3 separate regions of the Homo sapiens genome follow, and regions 2 and 3 are each linked to region 1. The links are contacts of gene promoters, found by promoter capture Hi-C in blood cells and fetal thymus (Javierre and others, 2016). All regions are on one chromosome and are shown on one strand. The core of a region is centred on a gene start or on the middle of the fragment in contact, and the rest is flanking DNA. Distances in the headings are between cores, read along the strand shown.

Region 1 (4,621 bases), core at 1,287-3,786:
ATTTAAGCAGTAGCATCATTAAATAGTTTATTCAAGTTTTAACCAAAGTTCAGCATAATTTTTTGGCTTTTACAGAAATTGTTCATACAGGTTGGCTTTTGGAACAAGTGTCCAATTTCATGGCTTGCTCCTGAGTTGAGCAAGTTTTACATTGTTACAGAGATTTGAACAGTAATCTCCATAGTCACCTTTTTTTGAATATTAGATACATGCACCTCCACTAAGTGATTTTTAAAGATTAGAATTAATTTTCTTAGTCCCAATTTTGGGTTTTCTCTCCAAGAAGAGGTAAGAGTTGACTTTTAACTGTCAAAATTAAGGAAAATCATCATGAACACACAGAAGTTATTTCGCCTGTAAATGATTGAAATGTCAGAAAAGCTCAGCGCGTGCAATACTGTGTCTGAAATACATACTCTTAATTTTAACTAATCTTTAAGAATATATGCAGAATCTACACCCTGGAGCCAATGACATTTATAAACACTGACAATTATTACCTCCCAACGTCCCATTATTTTTCTGTTATTTAAATTGGGGTGCCTCATCTTGATAAACTATTAAACATCTTTCTTACCCTTTCCTCTTTCTTCATCCCCTTGTCCCTTCCCCTCATCTCTCCATCTTTACAATTTCCAGAGGTGGAATGTTAAACAGTGCCAAGTGAAGTCAACAGACACTATCATGAAAAAATATGACAAAGGAAAAGGAAAGTTTACCATTTCTAAATGCCCACTTCCAAGAAAACACGAAACATTTTATTTTTGTTGGTAAAGAATCATATGCATTGGTATGAGAATTTTTTCCACACCAAATGAGTTAGTGAAAATGAAAACATTAACTTATTGGAATAGACTACTCTAGAAAAAGGGGATGATGTCAGTAGAATGCATTGTTGTGTAGCACTAGCAAAACATCATTTTTTGCACTTTGCAGAAGATATTTCCAGTAACAAAGAGGCCAGAGTTTAAAAAAACCCATATATTAAAAATATATAATATCCATACATATTATATATGGATATATTTTAATATATGGATATTATATATTAACAATTAGTTGACAAGTACTTTTAGTGAAGAAATATTTTTATTAATATTCTCTCCCTTTGAAGTTACCAAAAGGGTGTCGATGTCACAATGCTTAAGTTATATACAGGTGGAGGGCAGTTCTGTCTCAAATACCTTCTAAATTTTTCAAAATGATACCTTAAGAACAAACAGCAGGCAAAAAGTCTAAAAATCAAGATTTAAAACATTATTAGAAGGTGTTGCATGTTAACAGTACCAAGGAATTCCAGGTTACCATAAAGGCATTCATCATCAGAAAGGGTGACCTTTGGACAGTTTGCCAAAAACCAGGGCTTCCGAAATACGGGCATTTCGACAGAAGTCGATATTAAGTGGAAAGACAGGTTTTCTGAAAACGGCACGCAATTTTTGTCATTTGCTCCCGGGTTCTTCCAATATGGGAATGCGTCAAATGTACGTGTCCAGGTGACACTGGGACTCGGTTTCGTTTCGTTTATGTGTCCCCCTCCTCCCACTCAGGGTGGCCCCAGAGACAGCACAAGTCGGTCTGAACCCACTCCGAAGATATGCGATTCGACTGTGGAAAAGCCATTCCACATCACTGTGAAACCCTTGACCGAGGGCCAGTTCGGAGGAGCTGGTGACGGTGGAAAGAGATAAAAGCCATCCGCGAGGGAGTGAAACAAACCGACACGCGGCTCCCTGCGGCAGCTGAACCTCATCTCCCTTCCTCCACCTCCCTCTTCCCCATATGGACCCTGCCAGCTGCAACCGAGGTTTTTAACCCCAATTCACGTGCAAAGCAAGCTTCTTGCAAATACAGACGGAGGTACAAACAGCAGAGTGAGGGCGGGAGGAATATGGGGTACCAGGGAAAGTAGAAGGTGGCGAACGGCAGGGTGGGGTGTTGGGGGGGGGATGAAGCGAAGCAGGCGGCATTGTTGTGCCCCGGGAAGGGGACGGAAGGGGAGGATGGGCCTGGCAGAAAAGCTCTAAATCAAAGTAGGGGCTAGGGGAGTAAAAGAGGCACAAAAAAGCAGCGAGAGGGGCGAGGGAAAAGCCAAGTGGGTCTCTGTGATGGATTCCCCAAGCCCCGGGGCCTACCCAGGGCACCGGCAGCCCCTCGGCCCCTAACGGCGAAGGGGACCGCGCCGCGGCCCTCGCGGCTCGTCCCCTCCTTCGCTCCCCGGCCCACACAAAGAAAGAGCCGGAGGAGCTGAGCCTCCGACTCTGCCGCTTCCTGGTTCAAGTGAGGCGAATGCAAACGCAGGCGCGGCCCAGGGACGGAGAAGGCAAGCGCGCTCCTTCGCCCCCTCCCTGATTGGGGCCGGGTCCTCACCTGCTTCCCGGCGCCGCCGCTTCTCCTCCTCCGGACGCGCGGAAGGCTGGGAGTCCCCCAACAAGAAGAAGCCGCACTCCCCAGCGATTCTGCCCCTTCTTTAAACGTCGCTCCAGTCTGGGTCGACGTCGACGCGGCCGCCGCCTCCTGCCGCCAACGCTGCTACAGCTGCCCCACGCCGCCGACAGAGGGCACAGCGCGGGGGCGAAGCGCTGAAGCCAAAGGCGCCCTCCTCTTCCGAGCGCAGGCCGGGGTGGTCCGGAAGGGCCCGAGCTTGAGGCGGCTCCACTTCGGCGCCGTGCTCTGCCTTCGGTTCTTTCCGCAAGGGGGCGGAGGAAGACTGGGAAGCTCTTGTGTGTTCGGCTCTTTCCGGAGGGCTAACGGGTGGGAAAAAAGGAAAGGGAAAGATCGGGTAAGACAGTCGCAAGCAATTGGATGGAAGGGAAGCGAGTCGTTTTCATCGAAATTCAATGTGAACTTCTAGGGCATACAAACTTTTAGAGACTATACAGGTTTCATTTATTTTGCAAGTTTGAATCTGCTCTATTAGACTGTTTGCTAGATGATAAACCATCTTGAAATATAATCAAAATACATACAATCAAATAGAAATTCACAACTTCTTATGGTAATTCAAGTTCTGGGATAACAAGAGAGCAACTACATTACAGTAACTACTTTTAAGAAAGAAATTTAGTGTTTGGACAACTATCTTCTTAATTGAATACTAAATGGTGCAGTACTATGTTAATTCCCTCATTCCAACTAGCATTTACTGACCCCCTGCTTGATCTGTAGCAAAAACCCTATGTTAGGCTCTCGGGAATACAAAAATGAATAACCCAAAGGTCTCTACCTCTTTAGGGAGCTCAGTAGGTAGGTACACAAACATGGACAAAAATATTTGTACAAGGTGTAGAAGCAGAGAGAAGAGAATAGCAAATTGAATGCTGTCATTTGACCTGTATCTTGAAAGATTAATAATATTAACACTTGCATTTTTAATTTTTTATTGTTACTATTTTAATTTTTTATTATTACTATTTCCATAACATTTCATCTTCAGAGGGCTTTAGTGTCTGACACATAGTATGTGTTCAGTGATTGTTTAATGACCGAAAAAATACATTGTGAGTTACATAATTTTTTAAAATCCTCTGGTAATACCCTTCCAACTGAGTACCATAATAAATGAAGCAACAGGATGGGTGTTTGGAGAGCAAAATGTTTCCCTTTTAGGCTGGTTATTGATCGTATTCAACTAAGGAACCAAATAGTAACTTTTTTTCTGCCATAATTAAGGCCATTCACTACCTTCATTATCTTTTTAAAAAGATATATATAGGATAATACTGCATTCATTTCCAAAATCTTAAATTTGTACCTATTAATACCTTGCAGTGGAATTCCTGTGCTTCTTTCCTAAAAAATCTTGCTGAAAATGTCCATCAGGATATTAGACTGAAAACAGATGTAACTATATCTAATTTTCTCTGACAGGAAATCAGACATGGATGTCATCATCTCATCTACCTATCCCTAATCTATTCTTCATCCTCCTCAATAAAGTAAAGCCACATGGTATAATAAAACATCAAAGTGGTATAATATAGCTGTATTTCACATGGAAATATGCAATTCCTTAAGCTCTTCTCCAAGATTTTGTATTGTGGGAAAACAAACTATGTGGGAATTATTGCATTATTGATTTTTGATTAGGACTTAGCATTATGAAAAGTTTCATTGTTTACTATAAAGATATTTCATGGCAAATAGAAGTATGCTGTTGTAAAATAAACTAAGGCAGATTAGTATTTTTCCTGGCAACTGAGTACTTAATAACCATTTTTCTGAGTTATCCTCCCCAAAACTTAGTAGTAAAAAAAAAAATCTTAGTAATTAGAACAAAGTATATCTTGAAAGTTTAGGATCTATTTATCTTTCAGTGGCTTAATTGATGAAAACTAAAATGAGACATATCTTTGAAATACAGATCACAGTGGCAATAGATGCCACTCTAGATATCATGTTTGTTGGTCAGCTCTCAGTAAACTGGAAGGCACAATGCAATTTATTTTGTACCAGCATTTACATCACTGAGGCTGGCAACAGAATTGCCATGCCATTGTCACTTTCCTGAAAGTATTTTAAAAGTTTGGAGTACCAACTAACATATGATGAAACCTGTTCATTCAAAGCACAGTAAACCTTCTCTTCCCTTCTTGCTGTATCTCTCACCCCCTAACCAAGC
Region 2 (4,621 bases), core at 1,338-3,837, 510 kb before region 1:
GCTCTTTGCTTCCCTCTGGCCACCAAAAAGCAATTTTCGCTAATGCTGGTGAGGATTACATTAAAATTGTGTAAAAGAAAGACATGACCTCTTTTTTGTCAGCTGGTGCTCATAAGGGCTATGAAGATGCTCTCTCTCAATGGCTCTAGTCACCAAGGCTGACCTGAAATGTTGTAAGTTCAGCCAGTTGGGAAGAAAGGAGGGCATTCACTTAGAATCACCATAATTCGTTACCATTGGTTGACTCATTAAACTTCACTGACTCCATTTCTTCCAAACCATTGTTCATGCTTCTTGAAATTCAGTCAAACCACCCATTTCAGATCTTTGGAAGGGGGAAGTCTGGTCCAAACTGATGCAGTTTAAATTGGTGTTCCCAACTGATTCTGATTAACACGGAGGTGGGGGAGCACAGACAGATAGTGATACCTGTGAATTTGAAAAGGCTTCCTAGATAAATTATCTGATGCATCCAAAACATCCAGTCCTCCAGTACTATAAACTGCCTTCTTAATGTAAAGCACAGAGTGTGACTTTAGGTGCCCCCCTCCCGCCAATCATTACCAGGTGGAAGTCTTCAAGAGGCCTGTAGAAGGAAAAATGCTAAGGCGAAGATCCTCTCGTCACATACTCACTTTTAAAACCCCAAAACATCTTACTTGCACATTGTATTCTTAAGTAAAACAACTGGCCTTGGCAACAGAAGCATCAACAGAACTATAATGTGCTGATTCACTACTAGATCTTCTATTGTTATCTTTGACAAGAATGCCTGAAAATAATATTCTATGTGTTTCTAGGAAAAGAGGCTGTCTTGGGCTATTAAGGCTGCTATAACAAAATACCATTAAATGGGTACCTTATGAACAGAAATTTATTTCTCATAGTTCCAGAGGCTGGGAAGTCAAAGATCAAGGTGCCAGCAGATCCAGTGTCTGGTGAGGGCTCATTCTCTGCTTCAAAGATGGCACCTTCTTGCTGTGTCCTCACATGGTGTAAGAGACTAGCTAGCTCTCTGGGGTTTCTTTTATAAGGGCACTTAATCCCTTCATGAATGGGATGAATCTCCTTCCAAAAGCCCTCCTCTTAATATTATCACAATGGAAGTTAGGTTTCAACACATGAATTGTTGCGGGAACACAAATATTCAGAACACAGCAGAGGCCATATGAGCACTTTTTTTCAGTAGAAAAAAAAAGCCCCATGTTTTCAAACAGCTACTTAAGCACCAAGAAAACCTTCCTCAAATTAGATCCCCATTTGCTCAAAGTCTTCTCTGTTTAAAATTGGCAGTGGGCAAACTGACCACTGGTTTTAGTCCTTGATTCTAATAATCTAATTTGCCCAAAGGATTATGTGCAGTGCACAGCTGGGGCTTTTCTATCCATGGGAAATAAATTATCACTCTCATTCCTAAACATTGGCCCTGATACCTGGGCTGGGATTCTCCCTAGGGAAGTCCTGTAATTTCATTGTGCATTAAGTCTGTATGTTCTTCTGTCTTCCTGCATTCATTTATTCACTCAAATATTTATAGAATGCCTACTATTTGCCAGTCTATTGGCTGGGTACTAATTAGAGAATAGCATCAAGCAAGATAGTCAAAATGTCTTCCCTCAAAGAGTTTATAATCTGGTTTTTTTCCTGGGTCACGTTGTTATATTCTTGACTCATACTCCTTTCCTAAGCCTCTTACCTGTACCAGGTGTTTCTACCCTCCTCCTTGGACGAGTTGTAGGCATTAAATCCAGTCCATAGGGGTCTCCTGCCTTAACCCCATCCCCAAGATCCAATGCCAGTCAGAGGATCTTGATAGGAAAGTAAAAAATCCAGACAAGTCAATATCGCTCCTTACTCTAGTCCTTTCTTTTGCCCAGTCATTATCTATCCATCTATACTCAGATTATTGAAACCCACATCACAGGAATCTGATGGACAGGTCTGTGATTGTTCCTTTTTCCTTTGTGTTCCTAGACACTCCCCAGTAAACCACCGGACTTGTATGGTGCTCTGTACATTCAAATTAGAACTATGGTCATATTACCCTCATATACAGTCTCAGACCTGTACATGAAATAAAGATATAGACATAATTCAAAACCTGTATCAATCAGTGTCCCAGCAGGAAATAGATGGCACACTCAAAATGGCTATTTTGGAGAGGGGTAAGGGTCAATATTAATAAATGGACTATTTATAAAGGTGTAGGCAGGGTAACTCAGGGCTAGGAAGAGGATTTGGAGATGCCTTTACCATCATAGCCTGACTAAGAAAAGGGAGACTTTTGATGTCATCCCTACAGGTCAGCTTCCCAGGGTAGAGTGCAGGAGGGAAGACTGGAGTGAGGACCTGAAGAGGCAGACAAAAACTATCTAGCGCAGAACTTCTCATTCAAATTTTGCAGTAATTCAGACCAGGGCTGAGATCAAGGTATTGTGCATTGATCTGGGAAAATCAGCTTTGTTAAGCAAATGAGTAGGCTCATTTTTAAACTATGAAAGAACTCATTTGCATAGAACAGTGAATGACTTTTTTAATGTATTTATTAAAATAGGCCTCACTTTGACACTTTGTTAGCATTAGATTATGTTACTAAATGTGACTGAAAAAAATGAAACGAGACTGCACTTATTTAAAACAGTCTGGATTTCAGATTTACAGCTAATTCCGATTGATTTCCTTGCACCCTGTCCCCCACCAAAAATAAAAACTGGGCATACCAAATTAAGGAGCTTCGATGCTTAAAGTAACATCATAACACTGTTATCAGTTAACTAAACACTGCTCTTCTGCAGTCCATTAGAAGAACCTAGTAACAAGAAAACAGGTTGATATTAAAACTTTTACTTTAAAAAGTAATAACAGTAAATGGACCCCATTCCCAAGGCTGCCATCACATAGCCCAGGCTCCTGACCCTCTCTCTCTGCCTCCATTTCTAACCTAGAACAGTCTTCCAAGATGGCTAGCAGGATAATGCTAAAGCCCTGTCTGAAGTCCAGAAATTAAACACAATAGAGTCCATGATGAGCAAGACACTGATCACTGAGGTTGCGTCTCAGCATCAGACAGACTAGCTTGGGCATTTATCAGCTAAGACACCTCAGGTGAGCGGTTTAATTTCTCCAAGCCTCGGTTTCCTCAACTTTAAAATGGGAATAAAGAAAACATCTACATCATCAGTTGTTACAGGGATTGCATAAGGTTCTGTGTGTAAAACACCTAGCACAGTGCCTGGCACATTACATGCACACAGTAAACACTTTGATTGTCACACTCAGAAACAAGAGCTAATTTAAAGAAAAGAGGGAAAAAAACAAAGGTGAGAAGTGGGTTACCTTTCAATTAACTAAAATGTTACATTGCCCAGACTCCCATTCCCTGAGGGATCCCATTAAATTCACATTTATGGTATTGATTTTTTTCCAGGACAACAACCATTTTACACATTAAACATCTCTACCTCCTGCTATTTTATAGGTGGCTACTATAATAAGATCTCCACTCACATCAATTCAGAAGTCTATCTTTTTCCTCTGTCAAAAGCAGGAAATAAAGCTGGATAAGAGACCTAGGTCACTATGGGGGATGGAAATGTATCTAAGAATCCCCAAAGAATAGGTCAGGAGGGGGATCTGAAGTGGAATAAGAGGCTTAAGAGGAAGAAATTCAAATTGCTATGGCAGGTTTGTTTGGCTCTTGATCCAGAGAAGCCACATCTGCAAATGTTACACACACTGTCACGTGTTAGTTACTTCCCTTTTTCAAAAGGCACAAAGTCCTAGGTCACAAACCACCCCACCCCTCCCCCTAACCCAACAAGGTGAGAGAACAGGAGAGTTCAAGAACACTCAAACAAATAATACTTCCCCAACCCCTGACATAGCCTCCCTTTTTCCATGCTTGCTACTCTATAATTTATCCTCCCCACAACAGCCAGTGTGATCCCTTTTAATTCAGATCACACCACTCCTCTGCTTAAACCCATCCAATGTCTTTTTGTCTCACTCAAATTAAAAGTCCTAATCCTTACAATGGCCTACAAGGCCCTAAGCAACTTGCTAATCTGGTGTCACTAACCCCATGAACTCTCTAACCTCATCTTCTACCTCTCTTCCCCTCACTCACTTCCCTCCAGCCACACTAGACTTCTTTTCCTAGAACACACCAAACGCACTCCTGAATCAAGATCTTTGTTCTGGCTGTGACCTCTGCCAAGAATCTCTTTCTCCAGATTTTTGCATGGCTGACACCAGAAACCTTTTACAGGTTTTCCTCATTGTCCCTTTCTCTGTGAAACTTTCTTTGACCACCCTAATTCAAATTCGATCACACATCACTTCTGGCATTCTCAATCTCCCTTCCTTACTTTCTTTTTCTTCATTGTACTTATCGTCATTTAACATAACACATATCTTATTACCTTATTGTCTGTCTTTCCCATTAAAACATCGTACTCCATGATGGTAGGGATATTTGTCTCTTTTGTTCATGGATGTATTCCCAGGGCGTATAACAATGCCTGGTACATGATAAGCACTCACTATTTGTGGAATAAGTGAATTCACCTAGTTTAAAGTAACGGCCTTACCCTTACGGCATAATGTTTAGAAAAAAAAAATG
Region 3 (4,621 bases), core at 1-2,500, 310 kb before region 1:
GAAACTCATTTGGAAGGAATATTTGAAGAAAAATTTATGTTCTCTGCATTTCTTTCCAAAGGTAGGGTTTGAAAGTGAAAAACATTGTGTATACACAGAAGTAGTAACTCTGTGTACCACTAGTCTAAAGATAGGAACAATTACTACATCTATTTTTTCCATCACTAAAATGGATTTTAAAGTATCGACCTGCAGCTTTTAGGAAAATTTGTTCAGACCGTGTTTGAGATATGTGAGGAGAGTATTATGAATACATTGAGGCAAATATAAAATCAGCAATTTTTAAAAATGTATTTGAGCTGAATTAATTTTTATTTGTTGAATGTGTTTCTGTTTTTCTGACTTACTTTTTCAACACCCGTAACTGCCAGGTAATCAGTGCTACAGTGTTTATTAAATAGAGAAGTAAATGAATGAACTTAAGTAATATTTATGAGATAAGTGCTTTGTGGCTGAATATTAGTATTGAGAAGATTAGGTTCTCTATGCTTGTGTTTTTAACATTGTGTGGAAATCAGGAGTATGCTCTATTTTGTCTCAAGCAGAGGGCTATGGTGTTGTCTATTTTTAACCCTTTCTTTTTTATATCACTACCTTCCCATACCCAGGCTCTCAGTTTCTGATTTAATAGTAGAGCTTTCTGAAGTCAATATGAATTGTAATTGAGTAACGTTTTCATTATTTCACTTAAAAATATATGGATTTTGTAGCTAAAGATTTTTAAATGAGTTATGATCCTGGTTGCATTTTCAAATTGGTTTCAGAGATTTTTTTCTCTCCCTCCTAAAATAAAAGCATATTATTAAGGCATTTGGATATTCTAATTAAAACTTTTTTCCCCACACTCATTGCTAGTCAGTGAAGTTTAAAGCCTAGAGTAAGATGTTTCTTTCTATTCTGAAAATGCAACATGGTTTCTGGAGTCATTTCTTTCAGTCTTTAAAAATTTCACTCTGCTCGTAAATGTAGTTTAAAACCTGAGTTAAGATGTTTCCATTTCTATAGATGCTGCATAAATGTGGGGGTCAAACAGACCTGAATTAGAATCCCAGCTTTGCCATTGACTAGCTATGATGACCTTGGGCAAGCTTACTAAATGAGTTCCAGCCTCAGTTTCCTCGGTTGTAAAATAGATTCCTCAGGGTATTGTTGGGAAGATTAAGAGGCTTATAAAGTACCTTGCACATAGACAGTACTTTAAATCTCAGGTTAAAAATTCATGTCGACTTAGGTTTTACACATGATGAAATAAGATCAGGATTGTTATTTTTTATGGTCATTCTTGAATTTTTATTTTTTTGAAGCAATACAATCAATAGGAGAAAAACCTCACCTTCAATTTTAATAGGTGAGTCAAAATGACTTAAACAGTATTATGGCATTTCAAATTTTATTCTTTATATTAAGCTTAAATACAGTGGTTACTTTAATGATTAGGTGTAATAGTTATAAAGATCACAATTTACCCTAAAATTAGTAATGCTATTATATTTTATGAATCTTTGGTTACTGTATCTGACATGGTATTCTGATGCCAACCTTTTACATATCATCTAGATAAGCCTAAATTACCAGAAAACTACACAGATGAAACCTGGCAAAAACTGAAAGAAGCAGTGGAAGCTATTCAGAATAGTACTTCAATTAAGTACAATTTAGAAGAACTCTACCAGGTATGTATTAATATGCATAACCAGATTTGATTAACATAAATTGAGGTGGGATGTATATGGATTTTGCTTTCTGAAATAGGTTCTTAAGTAGACTTTTGGTTCCCTTCTAATTTTAGTTTCTCCATTAATTGATGAACTCTATAATTAGACCACGTATTCTCACATAAACCATGGGTACAGTCATACCAGTATAAGTTGTGCTTATATTTGACCCTCCTGATAAGAAATTACAGTTACGTGTACCTTGGTGTAATAGAAGTTCTACCTATAATGTAATCCTATAGCATGAATCCCAAAGATGATTTCTGGTGACATGTCATTCTATTGTGATAATTGTTTCTTAGTTGTGTTACCTACCCATAGGAAAGGCCTCAAGACATGCAGATATTATTCATATCCTTTATTCTACCTCCTTCTTAATAGTAGACTTTGCCATTTCTTTTTCTTGCTCTTTACATTTTTCTAATACCTGGGCTACAAGACGCACCTTAGCCCAGAAATGAGTAGCAGTTTGTAGTCCAGCAGCTTAGTCTGAGGTTCAGATTCTTTACTTAGCAAATGGGTCCTTACACTTAAATATAATTTTAAGGGCAGTTCCTAAGGGCAATCCCTTGCTACCAAGAAATTTTTCCCTACTGTGTATTTGACACACAACCAATTCAAGAAGTTACTTTCATTAGAGTGTCAGGGATTTGGTGTTAAAAGATACTTCAGGCCGGGCACGGTGGCTCACACCTGTAATCCCAGCACTTTGGGAGGCCAAGGCTGGCAGATCACCTGAGGTCAGGAGTTCGAGACCAGCCTGACCAACATGGAGAAACCCCGTCTCTACTAAAAATACAAAATTAGCCAGGCAATGTGGTGCATGCCTGTAATCCCAGCTACTCAGGAGGCTGAGGCAGGAGAATCGCTTGAACCCAGGAGGTAGAGGTTGCGGTGAGCCGAGATTGCACCATTGCACTCCAGCCTGGGCAACAAGAGTGAAACTCCATCTCAAAAAAAAAAAAAAATATATATATACTTCAGAGTACAATAGCTTGAATTTTTGTATTGATGAGTACCTTGTAAGAAATTATGTTGGTTTTATTTATCAGTATTTGTATATTTTAGTTGCAGAGCTAGTATGGTGATGGGTAAACCTGGATTAGGAGTCAGAAGATGGGTTTGGGATCTAGTTTTGACTGCTGTTACCCTCATAATCTTGGGCCAGGTACTAAAGCCCTCTCAGTTTTTTTTCCTGTTTTTTTAAGAGATAGGGGTCTTGCTATGTTGCCCAGGCTGGTCTTGAACTCCAGGGCTACAGCAGTCTTGTCACCTCAACCTCCCAAGGTGCTGAGATTACAGGCATGAGCTACCAAACCCAGCCGTCACTCTCAATTTAAATTTCCTCCTCTCTAAAGTAGAGGAAATAATAGTTTGCCCTACCTGTCTCACAAGGTTGCTGATAAGAATCAAATAAGATATTTGTGGAAAACGCCTCCAGGCACTATAATCTTACAAATATAAGATGGTATCACGAGTCAAACTTTTTTACAAGCCACATTATAGCTTCTTCACTTGTAGTATGACAATTGAGATCACCAGTTTCTGTTGCTGTGAAAATTAGTACACGCAAAATACTCAAATCAGTGCACAACACATAGTAATAATGCCGTGTAACATTATAAGCATTATAATGCTATGCAAATGTCGGCTAGTAGTTGTAGTACTAAGCTATTACTTAAGAATAAGCCCATTTCATATGGCTCTTTTGGCGTATTATATATGCGTCTCTTAAAATGTACAACAATAAAAGCCAAAATATGAAACTGACTTGGAAAGGCCTTAAGAGAGCATGTGGTCCAATATTTTTTCTTTGTGGTGTCCATGACAGCCTGCAAAGGGGATTCATCTCGTATTATCTCATATAAGCATTATGGAAACCCTTTCTGGGGTACGTAGGGTAGTAGTTACTATCCCCACTTTTTTTTTTTTTTTTTTTTGAGATGGAGTCTTGCTATGTCACTCAGGCTGGAGTGCAGTGGCGTGATCTCGGCTCACTGCAACCTCCACCTCCCGGGCTCAAGTGATCCTCTTGCCTCAGCTTCCCAAGTAGGTGGAATTACAGGCGCCTGCCACCACGCCCTGCTAGTTTTTGTATTTTTAGTAGAGACAGGGTTTCACCATGTTGGCCGGGCTGATCTCGAACTCCTGACCTCAAGTGATCCACCCGCCTCCACCTCCCAAGGTGCTGGGATTACAGGTGTGAGCCACCGCGCCTGGCCTATCCCCACTTTATTGATGAGGAGACTGAGTCTCAGAGAAGTTGAATAACCTGCCCAGAGTCACATATTGGCAGAGCAGGGGCAACTCAAACTGAGATGCTGGATTTCTAGTTCATTGCACTTTTACTCCTGTACCACCTCACTAATATACCCTGGTACTTTGAATACCACTGTAGTGCAGTGTTTGAAACAATTAAATTGTTTTACTTTAGGGAAAAAGCTCTTTATAATTTTAGTAGTATTTTTATCTGTGCATGCATAAGTGGTGTTTATTTGGATAGTATATGGTGTTTATTTGGATATGCTGGTATACAGCATATTTAATTTCAATAATATTTTATATATTCCATATTTGTAACAAATGTTTATTGTGGTTATTAATTAACCCTATTTACTTTACCTTGAATATTTTTCCAGAGCTTTTGATTTGAAAATACTTTTCCTGATACATTGATTCTGTTAAATCTTTTTCTTTCAAGAGCATAGAGCTTGCATCTCTTGTTTTTGTTTTCTTGTACTTCGTAAGTTTTACCTGCTGTTGTTCAGTTGCATTTCTTTAGCCTAGTCACAAGTCTTATAACTTCACTGTTTGCATTTTTCATAATACCTTACTGCTTTTGCTATAATGAATTCAAAAGCATTGGTTTTTAGCTCTTTTACTGTTTTTGACCTTAATTTTATAAA

What was found. Contacts are between HindIII fragments. The CHiCAGO score rates a contact against its expected background, and 5 or more counts as called.
Region 2: a contact is called between a fragment that was not itself captured here and the fragment with the promoter of ZBTB33 in region 1, in 1 of 17 cell types (fetal thymus). The highest score is 9.7, in fetal thymus.
Region 3: a contact is called between a fragment that was not itself captured here and the fragment with the promoter of ZBTB33 in region 1, in 1 of 17 cell types (total CD8 T cells). The highest score is 5.6, in total CD8 T cells.

The regions. Positions count from the first base shown.
Region 1 is chrX:120,248,727-120,253,347 of GRCh38, reverse strand. ZBTB33 (zinc finger and BTB domain containing 33) reads right to left here and starts at 2,536. Exons shown (of 3, transcript NM_001184742.2): 1 at 2,371-2,536; 2 at 578-679. It also overlaps a transcript of TMEM255A not described here. RefSeq lists an enhancer at 1,991-2,829. The HindIII fragment of the contact is 5,064 bases long and covers 1,841-4,621 here.
Region 2 is chrX:120,754,442-120,759,062 of GRCh38, reverse strand. No RefSeq gene overlaps it. Among named protein-coding and RNA genes, the nearest start is that of CT47B1, 120 kb to the left of the region's middle. RefSeq lists an enhancer at 3,894-3,973. The HindIII fragment of the contact is 6,950 bases long and covers 1-4,621 here.
Region 3 is chrX:120,554,976-120,559,596 of GRCh38, reverse strand. CUL4B (cullin 4B) reads left to right here. Exons shown (of 20, transcript NM_001079872.2): 2 at 1,558-1,673. Among named protein-coding and RNA genes, the nearest start is that of CUL4B, 3.7 kb to the left of the region's middle. The HindIII fragment of the contact is 319 bases long and covers 1,091-1,409 here.